2 separate regions of the Homo sapiens genome follow, and region 2 is linked to region 1. The links are contacts of gene promoters, found by promoter capture Hi-C in blood cells and fetal thymus (Javierre and others, 2016). All regions are on one chromosome and are shown on one strand. The core of a region is centred on a gene start or on the middle of the fragment in contact, and the rest is flanking DNA. Distances in the headings are between cores, read along the strand shown.

The links. Contacts are between HindIII fragments. The CHiCAGO score rates a contact against its expected background, and 5 or more counts as called.
Region 2: a contact is called between a fragment that was not itself captured here and the fragment with the promoter of BMPR1A in region 1, in 1 of 17 cell types (naive CD8 T cells). The highest score is 5.5, in naive CD8 T cells.

The regions. Positions count from the first base shown.
Region 1 is chr10:86,755,307-86,759,103 of GRCh38, reverse strand. It overlaps BMPR1A (bone morphogenetic protein receptor type 1A), which reads right to left and starts at 2,485. Exons shown (of 13, transcript NM_004329.3): 1 at 2,185-2,485. RefSeq lists a silencer at 2,003-2,972. The HindIII fragment of the contact is 8,878 bases long and covers 502-3,797 here.
Region 2 is chr10:84,357,310-84,361,143 of GRCh38, reverse strand. All of the region lies in intron 1 of CCSER2 (coiled-coil serine rich protein 2), which reads right to left. Among named protein-coding and RNA genes, the nearest start is that of CCSER2, 31 kb to the right of the region's middle. The HindIII fragment of the contact is 1,576 bases long and covers 634-2,209 here.

The sequences.
Region 1 (3,797 bases), core at 1,236-3,735:
ACCACCACAAGCACCAGATCAGGTCTCCATTTGAAGTTCTTATAATATTCTGCACCTTAATTAAAATCACAATTATATTTAACTAGAGACTTTATTTTTCAATAAGTATTTCCCCACTAGACTTTAAGCTCCATGAGGGAAGGATCTGTTGTATCTTACTGCCTTGGACCCTGTGTTAGAATACAGCGAGTATAGATGAATGAAACCCAAGGAGAGGCATCTGAAAATGTGAAGTCGATGTTAAATCTTACAGAAAACTCAAGGAGAGGACTTAGAAAAAGGTAGTTAAATGTGTTGATTAGGTTATAGTTCCTTGTGAAGGTGAAATCCAGATAACAAGGGGTTAAGAAATGAGTGGCTAGCCACCAACCAGGCAAAGGCAGGAAAAGCAGACTACACTTGGCAATCTCTAGAGATGGATTGTGAATGACTAAATTTTAATTTCAATGTTGCGCTAGTTCGCAATTAACAACCATGTGTTACTTTTATTACGAACAAGCTTTTTAAAATGTTAATAAGATTTGAAAAGGAAAAGCAGCAACAAGACAGCTTGAAGGAGTAGCAGACTTAAGAAAAGGTTTTTGTAAACTGAAAAAATCTTAAGAACATTTGTACTTTAAAGAACCCAAATACGACAGAGAAAATAACTCACGCTCCACTAAGCAGGAAAATTAGAAGGAAAGGAAAAAAACCCCAAGGTGTTAACTAATAAGAAAGACAAAAAAAAAAAAAAAAATTCTCCCTCTTTGACGGAAGGTTAAGAAGCCAGTAACAGAAGGAATTTAATGAAGGAGCTCCTGCTAAGTGCCTCAACCTCTTCTGTAAAGGGTGGGGAGAAGTGAAGAAAGTAGAAAAAGTTTAAAGTGGGCTCCACGGAAAATGGAGGAAAAATTAAACAAGAACTGAGTCTGGTTCTACTAAAAACGCATTCTACATTTCAATCGGCCTTTCATACACTCACCCCATTCCTAGATCAGAGAATTGCCCATATTTTAGCTTCAAATTTAAAAATCTAAATAATTCTGGTTCACATTCTTTATTTCAACAACTGAAAACAATGAGACGCATTAAGTTACACTCTAATTCAAAGTTTAACTCCTCTCACAAGTAAATACAATAAAGTAGTTGTTTTCAACTCCAGCAACAAAATAGCGATAATTTCAAGTAAGAGTAACTGAAAAATGTTCCTAAACGTAAAAGTGTTTGCAAACAGTTTTGGTTTTTTTTCTTCCTAATTCGTTTGCCAGAATACGATGTTCCTGGGTTCAAATCCCAGCTCCCTTAGACAAGTTAGTTAACCTCTTTGCGACTCGGTTTCTTCCCCTAAAACAATGAGGAATACAATAAACCAGAATCGTTGTAAGGATTAAATGACGTAACACAGGTGCCAAGTTCATACTATGTACTCTGAACAGTTTGTTAACCGCTTAAAAGAGAAAACCTGCAGGAGTTTGACCAAATTAAAACATCTGAGAGCATGAAAGAGTACCACGCTCAAACGCCAGACCCTAACACACAGCATATTATTTTTCTTCCCTGACGCAAGCTCATTTTTTTTTCCTTGCCAAATCTTTCCACTAGGAGTCTGGAAAGAGAAAAAAGGGTCCAGGCAATCCAGCAGAAAGTTTTCCAAAACTGAAGTACGGAATCACCAGGCCACGGAGCGGAGGCCGCGCAGGACAACAGGTGAAGCAGCTCCGGGAGCTCGGGGGCCAGGGCCCCTTCCCGCGGGGACTCGGGGGCGGGCCGGCTGCTCCTCTCACTCGACCCCCGCCCGAAACTCATTTTGTTCTCCCCTGTTCCTCCCCACAGCGTCCGGAGCCAAATCACAAATATCAGCCTCGCCGCTCCGGGGCGGGGAGGTGAGCGCCTTTCCCATTTAAGGATTCCAGAAGCGTCCCCGGAGCGACTTTCGCCCACTCCGCATCCCCAAACTCGGCCTGCAACCCGCGAGTGGGAGACAAAAGAGGGGCCGGCGGGGGACGCGGCGCGGGGTGCCGTGGGTCTCTGGCTGGGCGGTCCCGGCCCAGCGCGCGCCGAGGCCTGCGGAGCTGCCGGGGCCGGGCCGGGCAGCCCCTGGCTCCGGCCACCGCGCGCCCAGCTGCCTCTGCAGCCTCGCCCGAGCCCCTCTGGCCTCCCCGCTGCGGCCAGCCCCTCCGGTCCGCACGCGCACTCCCAACTCACCCGGACCCCAGGGAACGCATCCTCCAGCCCTCGGCGCGGAGCGGGTGGGCGCGGCGAGCCGCCGGGGCGAAGTGGGGCCCGAATCGGCCTTCGCCCTTGGCGTGCAGCGGCCCCGACCCGGTCGCCCCTCGATCGGGCCGTGCGATCTTCGCCGCGCGCGGACGGACGCGCCGAGCCTAAGCCTTCCTGCCCGCCCTTGGCCCTCCTCCCTCCTCGCTCCTGCCTCCTCCCTTCTCCTTCGCCAAGCCCGGCAGGCGGATTCCAATCTCTGCAGCGGCCGCCGCCACCGCCGCCGACTCTTGCCAGGAGGGGAGGGGGCGGCGCGGGTGCGGGGGCCTGGGGGAGGGGCGGGCGTCCGCGGGCCTTGCACGGCGCGCGCGCACTGGGAAGGCCCCCGCCCGCGCCGCGCGCACCCGACCACGGGCGCCTGCCCCGCCCCGCCCCGGACACGAAAAGAGCCGAGCGCACGGCGGAAGCGCCCGAAGAGTTCGCGGAGCCCGGCGCCCAGTTGCCGGGGAGGAGGGCCAGCCGCCGGCAAGGGGGCGCCGAGCTGCTGGTGCGGGCGGGAGTCGGGGCTGCTCCTCCGCGCGGGCCCGCCGGCCCCTCCCCACAAGCCAGCCCCACAGCTGCCGCCCGGGTAGCTTCCCGCAGACGCCGTAGGTAGCACGCGATGGAACGCGGCGGAGGGGAGCGTGGACACGGCTGCCGGGCGCTGCGGCCATCGGCGCCCTGGACGCCCGCTCCGGCCTTCGGGGCCGGATATCCCCACTCTCGCGGGCTCTTTCGCGTGGACCCCTCCTCCGGCCGACACTCACACTGCGGTGAACGCCAGTCAGCTGGCGTGAAATAAGGTCGCTGGGAAGGCACCAAGTCACCAAGGTGGGGGATGGCCAGGTCGTGGTAGTTGCGACAAAGAAAAATATAAGTCACATTGCATTTGTTTCTCGCCCACCCACCGCTCCCGGCGTCTCTTCCCGGGCTCCTTGCCAGCGTGCCGAGGCGCAGGCAGGGTGATGGAGGCTCCCCGGCCGGGAGGATCTGCCGGGGAGAGCGGCTTCCCTCATCGATTCGGGAGCGCCAGGCCCGGCGCGCCCGGGCTCCTGTGACCTGCGAGCCCGCGAATTCCAGCGGCATAAGATAAGGAGCGGCGAGGGCCCAACAGGACTGAGGTCAGCCAGCTATAAATACGCCTCCAGCTCCACCGCGGGCTCACGCTGGTGACCTCGTGTACCCTCCGGAGGCTCATTCCGTCCATTTGGAAAATGCAAATAATTGTCACCACCTCTTTTCTTCCATTTCCCCTCATTCATGGTGGAAAATGCTTTTAAAAGTATTCGATGACCCGTATGTGAGGAAAGAGGAGATAGGCCCCTTTTTCACCAAATGTGACTTTAACCTCCTTAGTAATCCAAGAAATGTATCAAGTTTAAGTCACTTAACAAAAGATGTTCTTTTAAAGGTGCATTTTAAAAAATCACTTTTAAAACTGGGTAAACTGGGTAAAAAGAAAGGGGGAAGGAAAACAATGTGCCAGGCATTTGTATTGACACACATTCTTGCCTGAAGAGGTGTTTAGATTCCAGGGTATTCCCTTATATTCTGGTATAAATGTT
Region 2 (3,834 bases), core at 172-2,671, 2.4 Mb after region 1:
TATAAGAAAGCCCCCTCTTAACGGCACAGGCATGCAGGAGGTGATGAAAGCCTGCACTGGAACAAACACAAACCCTCTCACTTCCCTGCCTCCTTCTGTCCTCTGAAGCAAAAGCCTTAAACTGCTGGGGAAGCAGCAGCAAGACTTCTCACCCAGGGGCACAGGAAAAAAATCCAGTGCATGTGGAGGAAACAGAATGGAATGGGAGAAATGTTCAGTTGATCCATTTATGTGAGAGTAAGGTCAAGAACTGATTAAAGTAATTATGATAATATGTGTTAGAATACAGCAGTGGTTCCACAGTGCTTGTGTGTATCAGAATCACCCGGAAGACTTCATTAAAACAAGATCTCTGGACTCCACTCCCAGAGTTTCTGAACCAACATATCAAAGGTAAGGCCTTAGGAAAAAGTATTTTTAACAAGTTTCCAGGTGATGTTGATTCTGCCGATCTGGAATTCATACGTTGGAAATCCCTGGGACAGAGACTAACTCTGCAAGAGCGGGCTAACTGAAAAGGGGTTGACTGAGACATTGGCAACTTGATCTGGATGGTGTAAAATTCACCAAGAGTACATCATTTAAGATTTATGTATTTTATTGTATGTAAGTTATACTTCATTTTTTAAAGCTTCTCTTAAAAAATTAAAAGCCTCAAACTGCTTCTACTCCTATAAATAGTAAAAATAAGCCTTACTGCAAAGACAACTTATTCTACAAATTGATAAAAGAAATAAGCATGTATCCTGCTCTTCTTGTATTTCAAAGTAACCAAAAAATTGATGGAAAATCTTCTTTATAGAAGAACCACAACTGATAAATACAGAAAAAAAGATAGAATCACAAAGTAAGAAAATCTGAAACACTCCATTAAATATCAAAACACCCCTCAAAAAAGGGAGTGTGACAGTTAAAACTGAAACTATTAAAAGGTAAGTGGTAAATAACACCAGGGATTAATTATGCTGTTTTCTCTACACATGATGTTTGAAAACATCCATATAAAACTTCCATTTAAAAAAGTAAACCCCAGCCAGGCACAGTGGCTCACACCTGTCATCCCAGCACTTTAGGTGGTTGAGACAGGTGATCACCTGAGGTCAGGAGTTCCAGACCAGCCTGGCCAAGATGGTGAAACCCCATCTCTACTAAAAATACAAAAATCAGCTGGGTGTGGTGGCAGGTGCCTATAATCCCAGCTACTTGGGAGGCTGAGATAGGAGAATCACTTGAACTCGGGAGGTGGAAGTTGCAGTGAGCTGACATTGCACGACTGCACTCCAGCCTGGACAACAGAGTGAGACTCTGTCTCAGAAAAAAAAAATAAAATAAAAATAAAAAAGTAAACCCCAAATAAGGATGCTTTCATCAGGGAAAGAGATAGGAAATAAATTTCAGCACATTCCACATTATCCTCCTTCTCTTAGCATTCATTTTCATTCTCTCTCAGGAGCACTTATATACCCCTATTCAGAGAACTCCCAAACCCTGGATCTCTACATTTAACTCCTCCTACAAAAGACAAAGGACTCTTGAATTAGCAAAATCATAAACTTCTAACTACCCTGACCAAGGCTGATCAGCAGTAGCATCAATAACACCTAGAAACTTGTTAAAAATAGATTTTCTAAGGCCTTACCTTAGATATAGTGCTCAGCAATTCTGTAGAGCCCAGAGATCTTGTTTTAATAAAGCCTTCCAGGTGATTCTGATACACACAAACACTGTGGAACCACTGCTCTATTTTAACCCCTATTATCGTAATTAGTTTAACCTGTTCTTGACCTGACCCTCACATAAATCAACTAAACATTTTTTACATTCCATTCTGTTTCCCCCAGATACAATGGACCCTTCAGAGTTGCAGGTGCACCAGGGGGAGATAAATGAAGTCCCCTCCCAATTCCACAACTGTATAAAATACTATTGATACAGTAATGCCTGAATTAACTCATCCTAGGGGAATTAAGTAATCCTTTGGACATAAAGCACTTTTTAAAAAGAAAAAAAAAAGTTGGGACAAAAAAGTGTATGTCCTGAAAATTAGATATTCCTGGTCTTGAGTCATTTCCAGTGGGAGAAGGTTACAGGAATCTTTCTGAAGAGCAAACTTCACTAAGCAAAGCAGGGTCCTAGGACCAGGAGACAGTAAATGCCTAGGTTCACAGGTCCCACATACAGAAACTCCTCTACTTTCAACTCATAAGCTTCTGTACATATGAACAAGGCAACCAATCAAAATGAAAGTTTCTCAGCAATGCCTGACACCAAAGGAAAATGTTAGCGATTATTTACAAAAAGAATTTATGAACAGCCTTTCAGAACTTAAAACTGTTTGTAAATAAATGAACTTCTGTACCTGAAAAGAGTGGAGATGGTGGAGGAGGGAATAGTTGAGGCAATCACATTACGTGTCTGTGTATAATTAATAAATATATATATACACGTGTGTGTGTGTATATATATATACATATATGTATATGTATATATATATACACATATATACATATATATATATTTAGATAGGGTCTCACTGTCACCCAAGCCAGCATGCAGTGGTGCTATCACAGCTCACTGCAGCCTCAACTCCTGAGCTCAGGTGATCTTCCCATCTCAGCCTCCCAACACATATATATTTGAATTTAGACAAAGTAAAATTACTTTCCAGAGCTAGAGGAACATTAATGGTATAGGTGATTCCACCCATCATTCCACTCTATAAAAATATACTTACAAAGTGAACATATAGGAAAAGACATGAATCTCCTCCTCTCTCAGTAAGTCTCAGTTTATACATGCTTGGCACAGTATGAACAAATTACCAACAGTGATATACTACTATCTGAAAATGGGTATTTTTTGCAGAAGCCAACTCTCTGAACTGACCAACTCTTTGGTACTCAACCAAAGCTGCAAGAAAAGATAACCAGGTTAAACTTAAGTCACCATCTGGCTTCTCAACGGCAACTATACAAGATTTTTAAACTCCATGCTAACTTTAGACCCTAACCTCACCCAAAATGTCCTATTTCATAGTTATCTATGTCTTCCAAACCACTGTAGGCAGGGGAAAACAGAGGTGAGCAACTCAAGAGGCATGTGTGTTCTTTACTGTCTAGATGGCTAAATTCCACCTAATGGGAAAGGAAAATCATACTTAAAATCATGCATTAAACCACATTCTCTTCTTCAACAGAACTACTATATGCTTTCCATAACACCATTATGTCACCCATAGAAGCATTATTTGTCTACTAAGTATTTACTGAACATCCATTATGTGCCAGCAACTGCACAAGTTATTGTGGATACAGTTGTCACAGACAGATATGAACCTTGCACTCCTAGAGCTAATGGCCCAGCAAAGACTAGACATTTAAAAACACAAAAATATGGCCGAGCGCGGTGGCTCACGCCTGTAATCCCAACACTTTGGGAGTCTGAGGCGGGCGAATCACGAGGTCAGGAGATCAAGACCATCCTGGCTAACACGGTGAAACCCCGTCTCTACTAAAAACACAAAAAAATTAGCCGGGCGAGGTGGCAGGCACCTGTAGTCCCAGCTACTCGGGAGGCTGAGGCTGGAGAATGGCGTGAGCCCGGGAGGCAGAGCTTGCAGTGAGCCGAGATCACACCACTTCATTCCAGCCAGGGTGACAGAGAGAGACTCCGTCTCAAAAAAAAAAAAAAAACACAAAAATATAATAAATGTCATAAAAAAGAAATATGAGGCCATACACTGGGAAGCAAGTCCAATGGAGGGAAAAGGGAGCTAGGGAATTTTCAAGGTTTCTATGGACGGTGTAGTTAGTCATCAGCCCCAATTATTCGACT